Regions from separate parts of the Homo sapiens genome. Here region 1 is linked to region 2. The links are contacts of gene promoters, found by promoter capture Hi-C in blood cells and fetal thymus (Javierre and others, 2016). All regions are on one chromosome and are shown on one strand. Each heading gives the region's core, a stretch centred on a gene start or on the middle of the fragment in contact. The rest is flanking DNA. Distances are from core to core; before and after follow the strand shown. Region 1 overlaps ALDH2 (aldehyde dehydrogenase 2 family member). Region 2 holds the start of ALDH2 (aldehyde dehydrogenase 2 family member).

Evidence for each region. Contacts are between HindIII fragments. The CHiCAGO score rates a contact against its expected background, and 5 or more counts as called.
Region 1: a fragment that was not itself captured here is called in contact with the fragment with the promoter of ALDH2 in region 2 in 2 of 17 cell types (endothelial precursors and M2 macrophages); the score reaches 6.4 in endothelial precursors.

What each region holds. Positions count from the first base shown.
Region 1 is chr12:111,807,685-111,813,445 of GRCh38, forward strand. It overlaps ALDH2 (aldehyde dehydrogenase 2 family member), which reads left to right. Exons shown (of 13, transcript NM_000690.4): 13 at 1,859-5,761. The coding sequence ends at 1,891. Among named protein-coding and RNA genes, the nearest start is that of MIR6761, 11 kb to the left of the region's middle. The HindIII fragment of the contact is 3,706 bases long and covers 1,902-5,607 here.
Region 2 is chr12:111,763,104-111,768,887 of GRCh38, forward strand. It overlaps ALDH2 (aldehyde dehydrogenase 2 family member), which reads left to right and starts at 3,830. Exons shown (of 13, transcript NM_000690.4): 1 at 3,830-3,993. The coding sequence starts at 3,880. RefSeq lists an enhancer at 3,289-4,058 and a silencer at 3,518-3,837. The HindIII fragment of the contact is 5,400 bases long and covers 1-4,791 here.

The DNA.
Region 1 (5,761 bases), core at 2,505-5,004, 45 kb after region 2:
GGCGAGAAATATGGCTCTTCCAGGAACTGCAGGAAGGTTGCTGGTGGTGGAAGATGTAGTGGTTAGTGGGGAGAGAGCAAGGCCAGAATGCACAGGCCCTTGTTGGCCATGATGTGGGGTTTGATGTCTTTGATAATGGAGTTTGATCTCAGCTATGGGAGCATTTTAAGTAGAAGAATTAGGTGGCTCAATTTTTTTTTTTTTTTTTCTGAGCCAGAGTCTTGCTCTGTTGCTCAGGCTGGAGTGCAGTGCTGTGATCTTGGCTCACTGCAACCTCCGCCTCCCGGGCTCAAGCGATTCTCATGCCTCAGCCACTTGACTAGCTGGGATTACAGGCGCCTGCCACCACACCTGGCTAATTTTTTGTATTTGTAGAGATGAGGTTTCACCCTGTTGGCCAGGCTGATCTCGAACTCCTGGCCTCAAGTAATCTGCCTGCCTCGGCCTCCCAAAGTTCTGGGATTACAGGTGTGAACCACTGTGCCTGGCCCACTCAATTTGTATTTTTAAAAGATTGCTCTGCTTAATCTATAGAGACAGAAACTTATTACTGGTCATCTAGGGCATGGGGAATGGGTAGTGGCTGCTCATGGGTGCAAGATTGCTTTTGGAGATGATGCAGATGTTCTAAAACTGGAGTATGGTGATGATTGCACAACTTAAAATATTCTAAAAGCAATTACACTTGATTGTGCATAAATCATATCTCAAGAAAGTTGTTTAAAAATTTAAGAAAGCGGCCAGGCGCGGTGGCTCACGCCTGTAATCCCAGCACTTTGGGACACTGAGGCAGGTGAATCACCTGAGGTCAGGAGTTCGAGACCAGCCTGACCAACAAGGTGAAATCCCTTCTCTACTAAAAACACAAAAATTAGCAAGGCTTGGTTGCAGGTGCCTGTAGTCCCACCTACTCGGGAGGCTGAGACAGGAGAATTGCTTGAACCTGGGAGGCAGAGGTTGCAGTGAGCCGAGATTGCGCCACTGCACTCCAGCCTGGGCAACAGAGTAAGACTCCGTCTCAAAAAAAAAAATTTAAGAAACCTCACTCTGCTTGCCCTAGGGAGAATGGACCATCCAGTATGAGGAGGGATGAGGGAGCTGTCAGGAGACTGCTCCAAGGAGAAAGATGGTGGTTTGGATTGGAGTGGTGCAGTGCAGGTGGAGAAAAGAGGGTATATGTGACAGGAAGCCAGGAGTAGGATTGGCGACTCTGGATATAGAGAGGAAAAGCAAAACTAGGAATCAAAGATGGCACCCAGGTTTCCAAGGAGGGGTTGAGTGGTGACGCCAGTCCTGTGATAGGGAACACTGAATGAAGTACTGTGGTTCTCTTTAGGGTTGTGTTTGGGGTACCTGTCCAAACCCAAGAGGTGATGTGGAGAACACATCTAGGGAGATGGGCTTGGAGCTCCAGGGGCAAGACCCAGATTTGAAATAGAAATTCTGACATCATTGGCCTATAACTCTTCATCAAAATCATAGTTACAGGCCACGTGCCATGGCTCACGCCTGTAATCTTAGCACTTTGGGAGGCCCAGACAGGCGGAACGCTTGAGCCCAGGAGTTCAAGACAAGCCTGGGCAACATAGTGACACCCCATCTCTAATAAAAATACAAAAAGTTAGCTGGGTGTTATGGTGCATGCCTGTAGTCCCAGCTACTTGGGAGGCTGAGGTGGGAGGATCGCTTGAGCCAGGAGGTCAAGGCAGTAGTGAGCTGTAATTGCACCCCTGTACTCCAGTCTGGGGAGAAAAAAAGAAAAGCCCTTTCTGCTCACACTTAGTCAGCTCCTAGCTGAGGGGACCTACAGATCACAGGGAAGCAGGAAGATCTAACGGCTTCTCTGTCCCCCTTACAGGTCACAGTCAAAGTGCCTCAGAAGAACTCATAAGAATCATGCAAGCTTCCTCCCTCAGCCATTGATGGAAAGTTCAGCAAGATCAGCAACAAAACCAAGAAAAATGATCCTTGCGTGCTGAATATCTGAAAAGAGAAATTTTTCCTACAAAATCTCTTGGGTCAAGAAAGTTCTAGAATTTGAATTGATAAACATGGTGGGTTGGCTGAGGGTAAGAGTATATGAGGAACCTTTTAAACGACAACAATACTGCTAGCTTTCAGGATGATTTTTAAAAAATAGATTCAAATGTGTTATCCTCTCTCTGAAACGCTTCCTATAACTCGAGTTTATAGGGGAAGAAAAAGCTATTGTTTACAATTATATCACCATTAAGGCAACTGCTACACCCTGCTTTGTATTCTGGGCTAAGATTCATTAAAAACTAGCTGCTCTTAACTTACTGGGTAACTCTTTGTCCATCTCAATAACCAAAGGAAGGTGGGCATGGTGGCTCACGCCTGTAATCCCAGCACTTTGGGAAGCCGAGGCGGGTGGATCACTCGAGGTCAGGAGTTTGAGACCAGCCTGGCCAACGTAGTGAAACCCTGTCTCTCACTAAAAATACACAAATTAGGCAGTCATGGTGGCTGGCACCTGTAATCCCAGCTACTTGGGAGGCTGAGGCAGGAAAATTGGTTGAACCTGGGAGGTGGAGGTTGCAGTGAGTGGAGATCATGCCACTGCACTCCAGCCTGGGAGTCAGAGCGAGACTCCATCTCAAAAAAAGTAAATAAATGAAATAGCCTAAGGAAATGCTGGCAGGCAGTAATGATATGGCACACTGGATATGATTTCTGCCCCTCCTCTGCTGTGGGTAAACAGCTTCTGTTTCATGCATTTACTTTTTTATTTTAATTACACCAATAAGAATGTGCTTGAATGTTTCATGCATTTAATTTGTTTCATGCATTTAACTTCTGGCCTGTTTACCTGTAGCAGGCTCTGAGATGTGCTCTAGAGACAGAACCTAAACATGATGCCCAAGAGAGGGGAGAGATACTGAATGTCCAATGTTCTCAAATTTTTTTTTTTTTTTTTTTTGAGACAGGGTCTTGCTCTGCCATCCAGGCTGGAGTGCAGTGGCACGATCATAGCTCACTGCTGCCTCGACCTCCTGGGCTCAAATGATCCTCCTGCTTCAGCTTCCTGGGCTAATGTTTGTATTTTTTGTGGAGATGGGACTTTGTTATGTTGCCCAGGCTGTTTTCAAACTCCTGGACTCAAGTGATCCTCCCGCCTTAGCCTCCTAAGGTGCTGGGATTACAGGTGTGAGCCACTGTGCCCAATTCAGTTCTCAGTAAAAACTTGATCAGGCCAAATGAAAGTGACATGGGCCAATTTCATAATAGATTGATTTGGAAACCAGATGTCAATTTACTTACTTTAAGTGAGATCTGTATCTTCAGTAACCAGACCTCTTGAGTCTCCCACCCAGAACACTATCTTCCTCTAGTCAAGATACCTGGCAAAGGCCGGGCACAGTGGCTCACGCCTATAATTCCAGCACTTTGGGAGGCCAAGGTGGGTGGGTCACCTGAGGTTGGGAGTTCGAGACCAGCCTGACCAACAGGGAGAAACCCCATCTCTACTGAAAATACAAAAAAAAAAAAAAAAACTAGCCGGGCATGGTGGCTCATGCCTGTAATCCCAGCTACTCAGGAGGCTGAGGCAGGAGAATTGCTTGAACCTGGGAGGCAGAGGTTGCAGTGAGCCAAGATTGCTCCATTGTACTCCAGCCTGGGCAACAAGAGAGAAACTCCGTCTCAAAATATAAATAAATAAGAAAAAGAAGAAATGGAAGCTGGGTTCAAGAGGGCAATCAGCAGTCTCTACCATCATGTGAAACACCACTCTGTGATTTGAGTCTTGACAATGTATTTTCTTTTTTTTTTTCTTCTTTTTTTTTTGAGACTGAGTCTCGGTCTGTCGCCCAGGCTGGAGTGCAGTGACGTGATCTTGGCTCACTGCAACCTCTGCCTCCTGGGTTGGAGCAATTCTCCTGCCTCAGCCTCCTGAGTAGCTGGGATTACAGGTGTGCGCCACCATGCCTGGCTAATTTTTGTATTTTTAGTAGAGACGGGGTTTTGCCATGTTGGCCAGGCTGGTGTTGAAGGCCTGACCTCAGGTAATCCACCCACCTCTGCCTCCCAGAGTACTGGGATTACAAGTGTGAGCCACCGTGCCCGGCCAACTGTAGGGACCAGCCCCACAGGGTCGGTGGGTTTTTCTCCCCATGTGCGGAGACGAGAGATTGTAGAAATAAAGACACAAGACAAAGAGGTAAAAGAAAAGACAGCTGGGCTTGGGGGACCACTACCACCAAGAGGCGGAGACCGGTAGAGGCCCCGAATGTCTGGCTGCACTGTTATTTATTGGATACAAAGCAAAAGGGGCAGGGTAAAGAGTGTGAGTCATCTCCAATGACAGGTAAGGTCACGTGGGTCACGTGTCCACTGGACAGGGGGCCCTTCCCTGCCTGGCAGCCAAGGCAGAGATAGACAGGGAGAGAGAGAGACAGCTTACGCCATTATTTCTGCGTATCAGAGACTTTTAGTACTTTCACTAATTTTGCTACTGTTATCTAAAAGGCAGAGCCAGGTGTACAGGATGGAACATGAAGGCAGACTAGGAGCGTGACCACTGAAGCACAGCACCACAGGGAGACGGTTAGGCCTCCGGATAACTAATGATTAATGATATTCATATATAATCATGTCTGTGATCTAGATCTAGTATAACTCTTGTTGTTTTATATATTTTATTATACTGGAACAGCTCGTGCCCTCGGTCTCTTGCCTCAGCACCTGGATGGCTTGCCGCCCACAGCCAACAATGTGTTTTCAATATGCTCCCCAAACTACAGCAAACTCCTCTTAACTCGGGATTTAGGGTGATGCCCTACTTATGCCTAACTTTATCACCAGCTTAACCCTCATCTCATTATATAGGATGATATTACTTCTAGGAAGATTTTCTATGTATGGAGGGTGCATCATTTAAGAGTATTTTAGGCCAGGCACTGTGGCTCATGCCTGTAATCCCAGCATTTTGGGAAGCTGAGGTGGGTGATTTGCTTCAGCCCACGAGTTCAAGATCAGCCTGGCCAATATGGTGAAACCCCATCTCTACAAAAAAATACAAAAATTAGCTGAGCGTGGTGATGTGTGCCTGTGGTCCCAGTTACTCTGGAGGCTGATGTGGGAGGATCACTTGAGCCCAGGAGGTCAAGGCTGCAGTGAGCTGTGATTGCACCACTTCACTCCAGCCCAGAGTGAGACCCCATCTCTGAAAAAAACACAAAAAACAAGAAAAGAATACTGCAAAGAACCTTGGTAGGGGTGAATTGGAAAAAGTAGAGAAATGTAATATTTCTTTCCTGCTGTACTCACTGTAACTGTGAGAGGATCGGCTCTTTTAACCAACAGATAAGAAAGGAAATATTAGCTATGAAGAAATGTCTATCAAGTTGATTTTGACAACCTAGACACATTAATCTCCTTGCACTTTTAGTGACAGGAACCCATTAGAACCTTAAGCAGCTGTCTGAAGTAAAAACAAAGCTCTCAGGTGATGAACCACCTAATCTCCCTGGGTATTCGGATGTGGGTCAGTCACAGGAGTATTAGGTGTAAAGCCGCTGCTTCTGGGTAGAGCCTCCACTTGTGGCTGCACAGAGGGCACAGAGAGCTTTTCCTTCAGCCCGGAGAAGCTTCCTAAGTGTGGGCGCCACCTTGTGGGACATACATTGAACTACGACGCTATTTCTCCAAGAATTAACAGGACAGCCCCTCCCACCGGTGTCCTTCCAACGATGTTGCATACAATTTGGCTGTACATTTGGCAGGCAGTGTAATGAGGGAA
Region 2 (5,784 bases), core at 2,580-5,079:
CTCCTCATCTCTCTGCCTCTGGCCTGCCTCCCCACTACAACTGAGTTTCCATGCAGTTCTCAGAGGAATCCCTCGAAGGCACATGTGCAACCTCATCACTTCCAGGCTGAAAGATCTTGGTTAAGAGAAATATTAGTACAAGCTATTAAGACTTAGGAGGCTGCCGGGCATGGTGGCACATGCCTGTAGTCTCAGCATTTTGGGAGGCCAAGGTGGGCTGACTGCTTGAGCCCAGGAGTTCAAGACCAGCATGGGCAACATAAAGAGACCCTATCTCTACAAAAAAAAAAAAAAAAAATTAGCTGGTGCCTTAGTCCGTTTTCATGCTGCTGATAAAGACATACCTGAGACTGGGCAATTTACAAAAGAGGTTTAGGCCAGGTGCGGTGGCTCATGCCTGTAATCCCAGCACTTTGGGAGGCCAAGGCAGGTGGATCACCTGAGGTCAGGAGTTCGAGACTAGCCTGGCCAACATGTTGAAACCCCATCTCTACTAAAAAATACAAAAATTAGCCAGTCGTGGTGGCACGTCTGTAATCCTAGCTACTTGGAAGGCTGAGGAAGGAGAATCGCTTGAATCTGGGAGGCGGAGTTTGCAGTGAGCCAAGATAGCACCACTGCACTGCAGCCTGAGTGACAGAGCTAGACTGTGTCTCAAAAAAAAAAAAAAAGAAAAGAAGTTTAATGGACTTATAGTTCCACATAGCTGGGGAGGCCTCACAATCACGGCAGAAGGCAAGGAGGAGCAAGTCACGTCTTACATAAATGGCCGCAGGCAGAAAAAGAGCTTGTGCAGGGAAACTCCCGTTTTTAAAACCATCAGATCTCGTGAGACTCATTCACTATCAAAAGAACAGTGCAGTAAAGACCTGCCCCCATAATTCAGTCACCTCCCACCAGGTTCTTCCCATAACATGTGGGAATTGTGGGAGTTACAATTCTAGATGAGATTTGGGTAGGGACGCAGTGAAACCATATCAGTCAGGCATGGTGGCATGCACCTGTAATCACAACTACTCAGGAGGCTGAGGTGGGAGGATCAATTGAGCCTGGGAGGTCGAGGCTGCAGCGAGTTGTGATTGTGCTACTGCACTCCAGCCTGGGTGACAGCGAGACCCTGGTCTTGGGGAAAAAAAACAAGAAGACTTAGAAAGCTACAGTGATGAAAACAGTGTCATACTGGCACACGCATACAGAGATCAATGACACAGAATATACAGTAGTTCAGAAATAGCTACTTACAGTTACTTAGTAGTAAAAAGATGACTGGCAGGATGTATTTGTGCCATATATGATAGACAAAATGTTAATTGCCTGGATACATATAAAGCACCTACAAATCAATTTCAGAAAGACCAACAATCCAATAGAAAAGTGAGCCAGAGACATGAGCAGCTAGTTCATAGCAGAGGAAACATGCATGACTTCATCTAGGCAGAGATGCTCAAGCTCACTCGTAAAAGAGAAGCAAATTAATGTGGTAGTGAAATGCCACTTTTTCGTCTCTCAGATTAGCAAAGCTAAAAAAAAAATCCTGAAACTTCTACTGGTGAGGGTGTAAGGAAACTCAGACATGACAGGTAGTGGGGCATAAATTAAACTTCTTTGGAGGGTAATATATCTGTATTTAAATTGTAAATATTCTTTGTTCCATTTCTACTAATTTCTTTCTTTTCTTTTCTTTCTTTTTTTTTTCTTTTTTTTTTTCTTTTTTTTTTTTTTTTGAGACGTAGTCTCACTCTATCACCCAGGCTGGAGTTCAGTGGCACGATCTCAGCTCTTGGCTCACTGCAACCTCTGTCTCCCAGATTCAAGCAATCTCCTGCCTCACCTTCTGGAGTAGCTGGGATTACAGGCACTGCGACCATTCCTGGCTAATTGTGTGTGTGTGTGTGTGTGTGTGTGTGTGTGTGTGTGTGTGTGTGTGTGTGTGTTTAGTAGAGATGGGGTTTCACCATGTTGGCCAGGCTGGTCTCGAACTCCTCACCTCAAGTGATCTACCCGCCTCAGCTTCCCCCCCAGAGTGCTGAGATTACAGGCACGAGTCATGGTGCCAGCCTCATTTCTATTAATTTCTTAAGCAAATCAAGAGCATACATTGTGGCATTGTTTGTAGTGGCAAAAGATTGGAAACAACCTAAATGTCCATCATAGGAAATTCATGAAATAAAACTACCTCATGTATCCAGAGGAATACCATGAAACTGTTGAAGAGAATGGGGACATAGTCCTTGTGTGCTGTGACAAAACGATCTCCACACACAGTATTAAGGGAAAAAAAGTACCTGGCACGGTGGCTCATGCCTGTAATCCCAGAACTTTGGGAGGCCGAGGTGGGCGGATCACCTAAGGTCAGGAGTTCGAGACCAGCTTGACCAATATGATGAAACCCCATCTCTACTAAAAATACAAAAATTAACCAAGTGTGGTGGCATGCGCCTGTAATCCCAGCCACTTGGGAGGCTGAGACAGGAGAATCGCTAGAACCTGGGAGGTGGAAGTTGCAGTGAGCCCACATGGTGCCAGCCTGGGCAACAAGAGTGAAACCCCATCTAAAAAAAAAAAGCAAGGCGCCATTGGGAAGGGGAAGTGGGGCCTGCATGGCTGAATTCAGAGAAGGAAGGGAGTCTTGGTTATCAGATTATCTCTGCAGCTGATCTCCAAACCTATTTCCCTTCTTCCTGGCACAGGGGCCACTCATTTCCCAGACTCTTTTGCATGGAGGCATGGTTGTGTGATTGAAATCCAGCCAGGCGAGCAGGCTCAGCCCACAGAAACCTCCCATGGGCCACCCCCATGCCTTTTCTTCCTCTGGTTTGTGTGGAATGGTGCTGAGCCCCCAGGGCGACTTTGGTGGAATCTGGTGTTGAAATCAGAGTCCCACCGCCGGGCGCGGTGGCTCACGCCTGTAATCCCAGCACTTTGGGAGGCCGAGGCAGGCGGATCATGAGGTGAGGAGATCGAGACCATCCTGGCTAACACGGTGAAACCCCGTCTCTACTGAAAATACAAAAAATTAGCCGGGCGTGGTGGCAGGCGCCTGTGGTCCCAGCTACTCCGGAGGCGGAGGCAGGAGACTGGTGTGAACCCGGGAGGCAGAGCTTGCAGTGAGCCGAGATCGTGCCACTGCACTCCAGCCTAGGCGACACAGTGAGACTCCGTCTCAAAAAAAAAAAAAAAAAAAAGAATAAGCAAATCATGCAAATCATCCTGTTCTAAACTCTGAACCGCTGCTTCCAAGACCGTCCCTGCCCTTGCCCTGGCCGCCTCTCTCCTTGTTAACTGGGCTCCATTCATTCTTTCCATTTCTCTAACACGTGCCAGGTGGTCTCATCTCCTGGCCTTTGCCCTTGCTGTTCCCTGTCATCATTCAGGTCTCACTTGTCATTTCCTGACCATGGTACTTATAAAAGCAGTGCCGTCTGCCCCATCCATGTCACCTCGTTCATCTCCTTCACCTCCGAAATGATCTCGCTTTTGGGTTTACGGCCGGTCTCTTCACCTGGAGCATCAGCCGGGAAGGTCAGGGTCGCCCTGGCTCGGGCCTGTTCACATTGGGGTCAAAGGCACACATTGGGGGCTCAACCAAGGCGAGCTGCGTTCGCGGGGCCGGGTCTTTCCGCACAGGCGGAGGGCGGTGGCGGGCGCGGAGGCGTCGCGCGAGCCAGGGGGCAGCCACGGGCCGGGGGTACCTAGCGCCACCCGCTTCGCTTGCATCAGCTGCGCGCCCCATCCCGAGGAATGGTAGAGGCAGCCCCGCCCCCGGCCCGCCCCCGCCTTTCCATTGGCTGCCGCGCGGGGCGGGGAGCGGGGTCGGCTCAGTGGCCCTGAGACCCTAGCTCTGCTCTCGGTCCGCTCGCTGTCCGCTAGCCCGCTGCGATGTTGCGCGCTGCCGCCCGCTTCGGGCCCCGCCTGGGCCGCCGCCTCTTGTCAGCCGCCGCCACCCAGGCCGTGCCTGCCCCCAACCAGCAGCCCGAGGTCTTCTGCAACCAGGTGAGCCCACCGGCCGGGCTCGCGCTTTGTTTTCCGGCCCGAGTCCCCCGCAGGCCCCTAGGAAGGCCCCGCGCCGCCGTGGGCCTTAGTGTACTCATCTGGGGCTCGAGGGGTTTGCAGAGGCTGACCTGGAAGCACATCTGCCCCCTCCTCTCCTGCAAGCATTTTAGCCCCTTCGCCGCCTCTGACAGTCCCCGTCCCATTTCCCCGTGACTTGGGCCCCCTCTCCGTCTTCGCCCAGCCTCGGTCTGTTTTCCAGGGCCAACTCTCGGGGTTCCGTTCTCCCCATGGTCCTTGCTTTCGGGTCTCCGCAGGGTCCCCACCCTCACCCACTCAGAAGACGCGACCAAGTCCCTCTTTGCAGGAACTTTCCTGTCTTTTCCTTAGTCATCCCCTTTACCCCCTGACTCATGCCCTCATCCAAGGAGTTCAAAAGGAAAAACCAGGAAAGAGGTGATTTGCAGCCACGTTCTCCAGTTCACCATGGGCGAGGCCACGCTCGGCTGCTTCCATTGCTGGGAGTAGGGAATCCTGGAGGACCTTCGGCCCCAGGGGGCCGACCCCAAGGGGTGTCTGCGGCTTCCAACGCCGGCTTCGACCAAACCAAGGAGGAGCTTTCCAGGATAAAACTGATTCCTGTGGTCCATTTATTGATTGCTCAATCAGTAATACTTTGGAATATTTTTTGTTTTGATCTTTGAGTTTGGTTAAAGTTCTAGACTTCACAGAGGCTGAAATTGGTTATGAAAGAGTTTGTTTTGTTTGTGCCAGTGCATGTTGGCTGCCTTCTCTGACTTAAGCTTTTTCTCCTATAAATGGAAAGGCGCTCTGAGGGTTAGGTTCACACAGGCCCTCATCAACCAGTCACTTCATAGTTAATCACAGCTCCTGTCCTGTCTGCACAGCCTTTGTGCAGCACTGTTCTAAGCGTCTACCTGTTTTGCAATTTAAGGTAATTTTTACAACAGCCTCAGTAGGAAGGGACTGTAATTCTCCATTTTACAGATGAAGAGACTGAGTCACAAAGAGGTTTAGTGACTCACCTAAAGACCAAAGTCAGTGGCATAGTTGGGGTTCACAGCTGAACTTCCAGGAGTAAGCCCCTAACCAGAACATTCCATGGTATGTTGTGACTCTGGGTGGGAACAAAGGGACCACCGATCCTCTGGGACTATTGCTGATTTGGGATGCTGTAGAGCTGGCTCCTAGCCAGCTGCTTTCAACAGCACACCTGCTGGTCTGGCCCTGAGTGTGGCTGCAAATCTGGATATAGGTGATGGGTAAAGGCACATGCGTGTGATTTTAGGGGATGTTACAAAGGTCATTTGCAAGGGAATTTTTAAAAGGATAAAATAAAATCTTTTGCATAACACAAGCTAAAAAGGCAGCAGCTATGGCTCCCTTGGCAGCCTGTGCAAGTTCATGCTTGGAAGACTTGAGCATCAAAAGATCTAGCAGAGGCCAGGTGCAGTAGCTCATGCCTGTAAATCCCAGCATTTTGGGAGGCCGAGGTGGGATGATCCGTTGAGCCTAGGATTTCGAGACCAGCCTGGGCAACATAGCAAGACCCTGTCTCTAGTCTCTACTAAAAAAGTAAATTAGTTAGGTGCGGTGGCACATGCCTGTAGTCCCAGCTATATGGGAGGCTGAGGTGGGATGATCCCTTGAGCCTAGGATTTCGAGACCAGCCTGGGCAACATAGCAAGACCCTGTGTCTAGTCTCTACTAAAAAAGTAAATTAGTCAGGTGCGGTGGCACATGCCTGTAGTCCCAGCTATATGGGAGGCCGAG